Regions from separate parts of the Homo sapiens genome. Here all the other regions are linked to region 3. The links are contacts of gene promoters, found by promoter capture Hi-C in blood cells and fetal thymus (Javierre and others, 2016). All regions are on one chromosome and are shown on one strand. The core of a region is centred on a gene start or on the middle of the fragment in contact, and the rest is flanking DNA. Distances in the headings are between cores, read along the strand shown. Region 1 holds the start of OR8B12 (olfactory receptor family 8 subfamily B member 12). Region 2 has its middle 1.9 kb from the start of OR8A1. Region 3 holds the start of OR8B3 (olfactory receptor family 8 subfamily B member 3).

Region 1 (3,088 bases), core at 92-2,591, 140 kb before region 3:
CTCTGTGAGCAACTTACCTGTAAAATAGGTATTGTGAGAAATAAATAAAGATATGTTTGTATATGTGTACTCTGGATCTTGGCAGCTGGAATAAGGGTACTATGTCAGGTACTAAATTATTGGGTATTCAAGAAATGGTAATGACAATCATTTTTTTCACAATGATTTTCTCTTAATAGTACAGGATACATGTTAGTAGAAAGCCAAATCAAGCAATTCCAAGAGATAAACAAACATTTCTTCTTCTCTAGGGAAACTAATTGCTAAGCAAGTGGTCTTGAGGGAGTCTCTATCTTAATGGCCAGATCATTGAGGTCTGTAATCCAGAATAAAACTCTTTAGTCTTTTGTTATTCACTGGTCAGGAAAAAGCTTTGTCTCCTTCCTGGAAGCTGGAGAGGCCTTTGGGCAAATGAACAATTGGAAGTCATGTCCTTCAGTGCAGGAAGTGTTATGAGATACATTAGAGGTTCTGATCCTTTGACCTGTACTGGGAAGAGAGGGCTTTGAGCTCAGATCTGTCATCTTGTCTTCACTAGGGTCATCTTCCTCCCCAGAATGTGAAAAAGAGGCAGTAGAGTATAGCATTTATGGCTCTAAAGGGAAGGAAGGTGAGTGCCTGCCCCGATGCTGGTCACTTATGTAACATGGTGATTTCAAGTGCAAGCCATTTGAGCCATACTGCCGAAATTCACCTTCTGGCTGCAGGTGGTTTGGGGACTTTTGTCTAGTTATGTCATCTTACTTGTTTCATCTGTAAAATGAAGATAATAATATTGCTACATGGCTCTTCAAACAGAACCTCTTATAGTAACCACTCAATAAGTGTCAGCTTTAAAAAATTATTAAATGTACAGCCACTTGAGCTAAGAGATCTTGGAAAAGCATGAGCTCACCTACTTAATCTGACAGTGTGGACCCAGAGGTGGAAGCTCTGAGCAGAGCCACTGTGGCTTCTGCATCTCAGGATTCCCTTCAGGGAAGAGGTCCAGGTTTTACCAAGTGAAGCAGAGACAGGAGAGGGAAAGATATAGAAAAGGGACTGACCTAAGGATCTAAAAGACATTTGGATTATTTTTGGTACCCCTTTCTTCAGCAGATCCAGCTCTCATTCTGCAGTTACAGTTGAGTCTCATATTACACTTTGGGAGTTATAATCACTCGGACTGTGAAGATAGACCCACAGTGAGTGGTAAAAACCTTCCTACCAAAGTTCAAATCTCTCTCCTTGGATTCCTTTTCTAAGAATGGGAGATAGAGACTAAGAATGTGGTGGTGATGTTTCTTTCTAAGTGGTCCTCTTCTCTTGTCCCCTCCGACTCTCCTGCCTGACCAAAAAGAATGGCAGCCAAAAACTCTTCTGTGACAGAGTTTATCCTCGAAGGCTTAACCCACCAGCCGGGACTGCGGATCCCCCTCTTCTTCCTGTTTCTGGGTTTCTACACGGTCACCGTGGTGGGGAACCTGGGCTTGATAACCCTGATTGGGCTGAACTCTCACCTGCACACTCCCATGTACTTCTTCCTTTTTAACCTCTCTTTAATAGATTTCTGTTTCTCCACTACCATCACTCCCAAAATGCTGATGAGTTTTGTCTCAAGGAAGAACATCATTTCCTTCACAGGGTGTATGACTCAGCTCTTCTTCTTCTGCTTCTTTGTCGTCTCTGAGTCCTTCATCCTGTCAGCGATGGCGTATGACCGCTACGTGGCCATCTGTAACCCACTGTTGTACACAGTCACCATGTCTTGCCAGGTGTGTTTGCTCCTTTTGTTGGGTGCCTATGGGATGGGGTTTGCTGGGGCCATGGCCCACACAGGAAGCATAATGAACCTGACCTTCTGTGCTGACAACCTTGTCAATCATTTCATGTGTGACATCCTTCCTCTCCTTGAGCTCTCCTGCAACAGCTCTTACATGAATGAGCTGGTGGTCTTTATTGTGGTGGCTGTTGACGTTGGAATGCCCATTGTCACTGTCTTTATTTCTTATGCCCTCATCCTCTCCAGCATTCTACACAACAGTTCTACAGAAGGCAGGTCCAAAGCCTTTAGTACTTGCAGTTCCCACATAATTGTAGTTTCTCTTTTCTTTGGTTCTGGTGCTTTCATGTATCTCAAACCCCTTTCCATCCTGCCCCTCGAGCAAGGGAAAGTGTCCTCCCTGTTCTATACCATAATAGTCCCCGTGTTAAACCCATTAATCTATAGCTTGAGGAACAAGGATGTCAAAGTTGCCCTGAGGAGAACTTTGGGCAGAAAAATCTTTTCTTAAGAAAGGATTAGTATTGGAGGAAGGAGATACAATGCTTTGCTTATTAGTGTGTGTTTTCAGTGAGATTCAAGTTCCATTTTTTTCCTGTCTTGTACAGAAAAAGAATTTTAAATCTTTACATTTGGATGAGTGTTAAGTGCAGACATATTCTCCCTGTCTCTGCTTCACCTAGTTATTCCAGGATTTCTTCATTTTATGCAAATTTTTCTATAATCATAGACCATTTAATCGTGAATTGGCCTTACACATTATTTAATCTAGTCTCTTCAATTAACATGTGTTGGAGACTCAGAAATACATATGTTGCTCAAGGACACACAACTACTTGGTGCCACAACTGGGAATGGAATCCAGGTCCTTGAATTCCAGGCTGCTTTTTTTTTCTTTATGTCATTTTTTCATGCTTCATTGCTGCCCTTGCAGATATCCTTTTAAAAGTAAGAAAACTTAACACATTAAAACCTAATTCTATTCATAGTAATTTAATGTGACCTCTCAATAAATAATTTTTAAATATTTCATTTTTTTTCAAGAGGATAGAAGATGAAACATTTTCTTAAGTTGGTCTTCACCAAATGAGAAGAGAATTGTGTCAAGTTTGTAGAATGTGACTGACATTGAGTTAAGATTGAGGTTGTGTGGAACCCTAGGAACCCAGTCTAGGGAATTAGGACTTCCATAGGATTAAGGGTTATAAAGATGCTGAGTAGAAATCATACATTCATTTGAAAACTTAAAGAATCAGAATGTAGAGCTTTTTCAAGGGTTAGTTTGGGTGTTTGAGCTGTGATGGAGAAATATGTGGCTTAGGATAA
Region 2 (3,096 bases), core at 83-2,582, 170 kb before region 3:
TTTGTAGTTGGGGATGGATTTTGCTTTAGAAATAAACTTCCTTTGTCATGTATATAATTCCTAAATATTCACTGAATGTGAACATGTAAATACCTATCTGAAATTTACGCAGTGTCAGGGTGATAGGGTAGTTACAAGCTGTGTCATTGGCTGACACATCAATTTCTATGTCTGAAAGATGAAGAAATTAATATTGATTCCAAAGGTGGTTGTAAAAATAACACAGGATAATGCATATTTAGAAATCTTTTTTCAAATACTCAGTGCCTATAAAAAATGTGAATTGTCATTAAGAGTCTGGAATTTGTTCTTAATTTCTTACTTGACCTGAGGTCCTAAGGCAGTGGTTCTCAGCATTGGCTATACATTATAATCACACGGGGCATTTACAAAGGATTGATACCTGGGTTCTACCCGTAGATGTTCTGATTTAATTGATCTGTGGTGCAACATGAGCACTGGCCCATTGAATGTTCCATACTAAGTGCTAAATAGCTAATTATTATTATTATTATTTTCAGATCATAATATCAAACCTTTGTCCTATTACATCCCTGATGACAAAGTATTCAAATTACAGGCATATCTCCAGGAAGCATGAATAATCATTGCTGGATACAATATGTATAGACAGTCTTATCTGTGGGATGTATTTCTTAAGCTATAAAACATATTACCCCTATTTTAATTGCTTCCTTATGTAATTACTAACTTTTGCATAATGCTTTACAGCTTACACATTTCTTTCAAAGGTCGATCTCATTAACTTCTGAAGTTTTCGGAAATGGGGAGAAATGTGTTTAGGGAAGGATTTTTATTTTCATGTTTGTATTGAGAAAACTGAGGTGCCAGACACTAAGTGATTTGCCCAAGGTTTACTAATTATTGGTGACTTGGAACTCAAACTTACCTCGGCTCTGTCCTGATCATGAGTTTCCTCTTTTGCCTCACATGTGCAGCCTTGTAAATCTGCACACTCACAGCTCTTAGCAATGTATGATTAAAATAGGTTTAAGCTTGATATCTTAGTATATGCATAGCATAGGAAAAATGCTGTATTTTGTTTCGTTGTCTAGGAAATTGAAGCTCTAAAAGTTAAATAAGTCACCCAAGGAAACCCAGCTAGTAAGAGGCAAAACTGGGCCTAAAACCCAGGACTTCTGACCACCAGTGTGTTTTGTCTCCACTAAACTAAATTGTTTTGTTTTAGCGTATCTTTGTGTAGCACTTTATTATTATTTAATAACATTTAATTTATATAATTTTTGAAGATAGAGGAAAGATCTATTGCTAATTTTGGATGCATTTAAAAAAATTATAAAGGCAATATATAGGCATTGTAGTGAATTAGAAATGCAAATAAGCAAAAATTTAAAACAACCATTTTCCACCACTTGGAACCAAACGGTGGTAGTGAATATCCTTCTAGACTTTTCCTATGCATATATGTATTTACATGTATATAAATATATATGTATTTTTACAAAAACATTTGTAATCTGCTTTTTAAACATAGCATTCACAAATGTATTGTCTCATTTGATTCCTATAACTGGCACTAACTGTATTCTTTTTTCTTAGAAGTAAGAGTCTTTAAAATCATTAGGACGTGGTGTGAAGACAAAGTCTGAATTGCATTGTAAGCTTTTATATCAAATTATTGGTAATGAGGCATTTAACTTTACAATAACTAGTATGAGAGGTAGCTAAGATTTTTAAAATTCACGTTAAGCATTCCCAATCTGAAAACTCAAAGTCCAAAATCTGAAACTTGTTGAGGGCCAACATGAACCACAAGTGGAAAATTCCACACCTCCTCTCATGTGACTAGTCTCAGTGAAAATACAGTCAAAACTGTTTCATGCACAAAATTATTAAAAATATGGTATAAAATTACCTTCAGCCTATGTGTATAAGATGTATATGAAGCATATATAAATTTCATGTTTAGACTTGGATCTCATCCTCAAGATATCTCATTATGTATATACAAACATTCTAAAACCGGAAAAAAATTCGAAATTCAAGACATTTCTAGTCCCAAGCATTGTGCATAAGGAGTTATTCCCATTTATTACAATGGAAATAGAAATGTATTATTTTCATTTATCACAAAGAAGAATTTTTTTCTAAATAACAACAGTAGATTTAAAAAGTTTTACATATCCTTTTTTACCCAATGTCTGCCTCTTAAAATGAAAGGAAACACCCAACTTGAATAACTATAACTGTAGATCGTGTGCTTTACAAAGCAGTGTGGAATGAACACTGTTCACTGAGTGCACAGCAGGTGGGAACACCATTGTGTAGGAGAACGCTAGACAGCACTGATTTAACGTTTCACTCTCATAGTCTTCTAATAACATGAAAGAGGCAAATATAAACCACGTATTTCTTTTACTTTCCTGTTTTTCCTCTTTTTTAAAGACAGAGTCTCATTCTGTTGCTTAGGTTTGAATGCAGTGGTACGATCATGGCTCACTGTAACCTTGAACTCCCAAGCTCAAGCAAGCATCTCACCTCAGCCTCATGAGTAGCTGGGACTACAGGTGTATGCTACCATGCTGGGCTACTTTTTAAAATTTTGGCTACAGATGGGATCTCTCTGTGTTGCCCAGGCTGGTCTCCAACTCCTGGCCTCAAGCAATTCTCCTCTCTTGGTCCTCTAAAGCTCTAAGACTACAGGTGTGAGCCACTGTGCCTGGCCAAACCATATATTTTATATTAGTTACTACAATTATTACCTTTAGTTTCACTAAGCCATAAGAGCCTTAGGATAACTGCCAATGAGAACACAGCACACAGATTAAAAAAGCACATAGTGGTGAAAGTAAATATATGGTTGTAAATAGTCTGCATCACAAACAAGAGTTCATGGAAGAAATATTTTTCTCAGGCAATTGCTTTAAGTTTGTAATTAAATACCTGTGATGAGGAAAAATAAAGCACAGTCTGCTGGAAACTTTAAGGGCTGCCTTGGTTTCAACAATCAGAAAATGCAGGAACCATACTGATTTATACTGAGTCCTACATTTACTCAAATTCATTAAAAAATGGATCACTAAGACTGGGGGCTTGGGATTGTGTTTACGAATA
Region 3 (3,100 bases), core at 501-3,000:
TTGAGCCCAGGAGTTCGAGACCAGCCTGTAAAACAGTGAGACCCTGTCTCTACAAAAATAAAAAAAGATTAGCTGGGTGTGATAGCAGGCGCCTGTACTCTCAGCTACTCAGGAGGCAGAGGTGAGAGGATTGCTCGAGTCCAGGAGGCCAAGGCTTCCGTGAGCCAAGATCGTGCCACTGTACTCCAGCCAGGGTGACAGAGTGAGACCTGGTCTCAAATATTTTTAAATAAATAAGTATAATAAAAAGAAAAAAAACAAAATGGTTGTTACCAGAGGCTGGGGGTGAGGGGAATGAGATGTTGGTCAAAGGGTGCAAAGTTTTAATTAGAAAGGAGGTATATGTTTTTGGAATCTATTGCACTGACTGGAGAGTATAGTTAATAATAATGCAATATATATTTCAAAATTGCTAAGAGAGTAGATTTTAAGTGTTTACACTACAGAAAATCAGTATGTGAGTTGATAGGTGTGTTAATGATCTTAATTTAATAATTTCATGATGTATACATTTATCAAAACACCACATTGTATCCCATAAATACATATAATAATTACTAATAAAAAATAAGAAAACAAAAGTTTATACATCTCTTTTAAGATGGATATTTTTGGCTGGGTATGGTGACTCACTCCTGTAGTCCCACCACTTTGGGAGGCCAAGGCAGGTGGATTACTTGATCCCAGGAGTTCAAGACCAGCCTGGGCAATATGATGAAATCCTGTCTCTATAAAAAATACAAAAATTATCCAATGGTGGTGGCATGTGCCTGTAGTCCCAGCTACTTGGGAGGCTGAGGTGGGAAGATCTATTGAACCTGGGAGGTTGAGGCTGCAGTAAGCTGTGATTGCAGCAAAGCAGGACACAGTCTCAAAAAAAAAAAAAAAGAGAATTCTGTATCCTGACTTAGGTGGTGGTTACATAAATATGTACATGGGATAGAATTGCATAGATTTGCACACACATACATACGAGCATGTTAAACTAGTGAATAAGGTCTGTAGTTTCGTTAACATTATTGAACCTATGTCAATTTCCTGGTTTTGCTATTGTCCTATAGTCGTGGAAGACATCGCCATGTGAGGAAACTGGGTGAAGAGTTCAAGGGAATCTACGTATGACTTTTGCCACTTCTTGTGATTCTAGTAATTTTAAAATAAAAAGGTAAAAAAATAGATGCCTTCTCACAAGCACAAATTCCTACCTACAGAGAAATTCTAAAGTCACACTGTCTTGAAATAACGGCCCATGAATAGTGATTTTTCTTACGGATTTGATTTTAACATGAAAGACAAAGACATGTTGAGTTAGAGCAACCCAAGGTAAATACATTTTTATGAAATAAAGGATAATTCTATGTTACACAAAATTTTTATTAAAAAATCTGAAATCAATTAAAAGTATCCCTTTTCTTTATGCCTATGAAGTATGCAAAAGTAAAAATGGATTATTTGAAAGATTATTTAAAAGGACTCACAATATTAAAAATGAGCATATAAACTTCACTAAATTATACTTACATTCCTGTTAAAGCTAATATACTACCTAGGATTATAATTAGCAAAAATTCTGACAATCATTACATTTACATCTTTATACATGAGAGCAGATGCTCTTTCTCCTATGCCCTGTGGATTGTATAATCCCTGATGAGAAATTTACCTCTACTACAACAAATTAGGCTGTAAACAAGGGCATACAATTTCTTCCCTGCAGAGTTTGTCATGGTAGGGGAGGTCCTGAGAGAGACTTACTGGGGGATATGTAATCAGGTCCAAAAGAATTGTAAGCCTTGAGCAAATGCCATGTGCTCTATGACATGGTAGCTCTGGTTTGAAGTGCAGTTTTCCAACAAACCCTCTTGGCAAATTTATAAATAATAGTTTGATCTACACCACAAAATGATTCCCAGAACATTCAGATTCTGAGATCTCTGCTCAATGCTTTTGCCAGTCAAGGGAGAAGAAGATTCTGTGACTACATCTGATCAACATAGATACCTTCACAGCCATTTCTTCCTCCAGGGCAGTGGAGGTGAAACACATATCAATGGTCAGCACTGAGTTCTCTGAGTGGAAGGAAGGTGAGTTAATCAAGTTTCTATTTCTCTCTCCTGGATGTTGCTGAAAAATGGGGAAAAGTATTCTATTCAATAGCAAGAAACTTAGTGGTATGGAGCTCTGACTCTTGGGCTTGCATTTTTCTCACACTGTTCTCTCTGTTGGCTTCATTCTTAGCCTGGTATCAAGATAGCAATAGCAGTTCCAAGTGACACATCCAGAACAGAGGAATGCCAGGAAAGGATATTTGTCTCTTTATTAAAAAATATATTGACATGTGCTATACATATAGAAGAGTTTAAGGGTCATAAAAATACCAGTTTGGTAAAATTTTACAAACTTAACAACTAATATAACTGTACCCAAATTAATTATGTTTCTCTTATGCCTTCCTACAAAGACCTGTGAAAGCACATTCAGCTTCCTTTCTTCATCCTGTCTAGCTAGGATGGAATAGAGGAGAATGTGTAGAAACACTTATGTGATTTGTATGTGGTGAATCATAAGGCTTTGACTACTAAGGGTCTTCTGTTATCACCTGGTGACTTCATGGATTCTTATAGTAAGGTATCTAGAAACCCTATAGGAGACCCCTGTCTAGGAAACAGAATATCGGTATGGTCTCTGCCCTAAAGGAATCCTCCCTTACCTGGTGGTCATCACAAGGAAACTGAAGTGTCTAGTAGAATAATGGAAACATAAGTAGAAACTAGGAAGTGGCCAGGCTCGGTGGTTCACACCTGTAATTCCAGCACTTTGGGAGGCTGAGGCAGGTGGATCATCTGAGGTCAGGAGTTTGAGACCAGCCAGACCAATATCATGAAACACTGTCTCTACTAAAAATACAAAAATTAGCTGGGATCGTGGCATGTGCCTGTAATCCTAGCTACCTGGGAGGCTGGACAGGAGAATCTCTTGAACCCGGGAGGCAGAGGTTGCAGTGAGCCGAGATCCCACCATTGCACTCCAGCCAGGGCAACAAGCGTGAAACTCCATCTTAAAAAAAAAAAAAAGAAACTAGGAAGTGAAGGGCCAGATG

The links. Contacts are between HindIII fragments. The CHiCAGO score rates a contact against its expected background, and 5 or more counts as called.
Region 1: the fragment with the promoter of OR8B12 here is called in contact with the fragment with the promoter of OR8B3 in region 3 in 2 of 17 cell types (M1 macrophages and M2 macrophages); the score reaches 5.4 in M1 macrophages.
Region 2: a contact is called between a fragment that was not itself captured here and the fragment with the promoter of OR8B3 in region 3, in 4 of 17 cell types (M2 macrophages, M0 macrophages, M1 macrophages and 1 more). The highest score is 5.8, in M2 macrophages.

What each region holds. Positions count from the first base shown.
Region 1 is chr11:124,541,907-124,544,994 of GRCh38, reverse strand. It overlaps OR8B12 (olfactory receptor family 8 subfamily B member 12), which reads left to right and starts at 1,341. Exons shown (of 1, transcript NM_001005195.1): 1 at 1,341-2,273. The coding sequence starts at 1,341. The coding sequence ends at 2,273. The HindIII fragment of the contact is 5,500 bases long and covers 374-3,088 here.
Region 2 is chr11:124,566,534-124,569,629 of GRCh38, reverse strand. No RefSeq gene overlaps it. Among named protein-coding and RNA genes, the nearest start is that of OR8A1, 1.9 kb to the left of the region's middle. The HindIII fragment of the contact is 628 bases long and covers 1,019-1,646 here.
Region 3 is chr11:124,397,674-124,400,773 of GRCh38, reverse strand. OR8B3 (olfactory receptor family 8 subfamily B member 3) reads left to right here and starts at 1,750. Exons shown (of 2, transcript NM_001005467.2): 1 at 1,750-2,084. The HindIII fragment of the contact is 12,656 bases long and covers 1-3,100 here.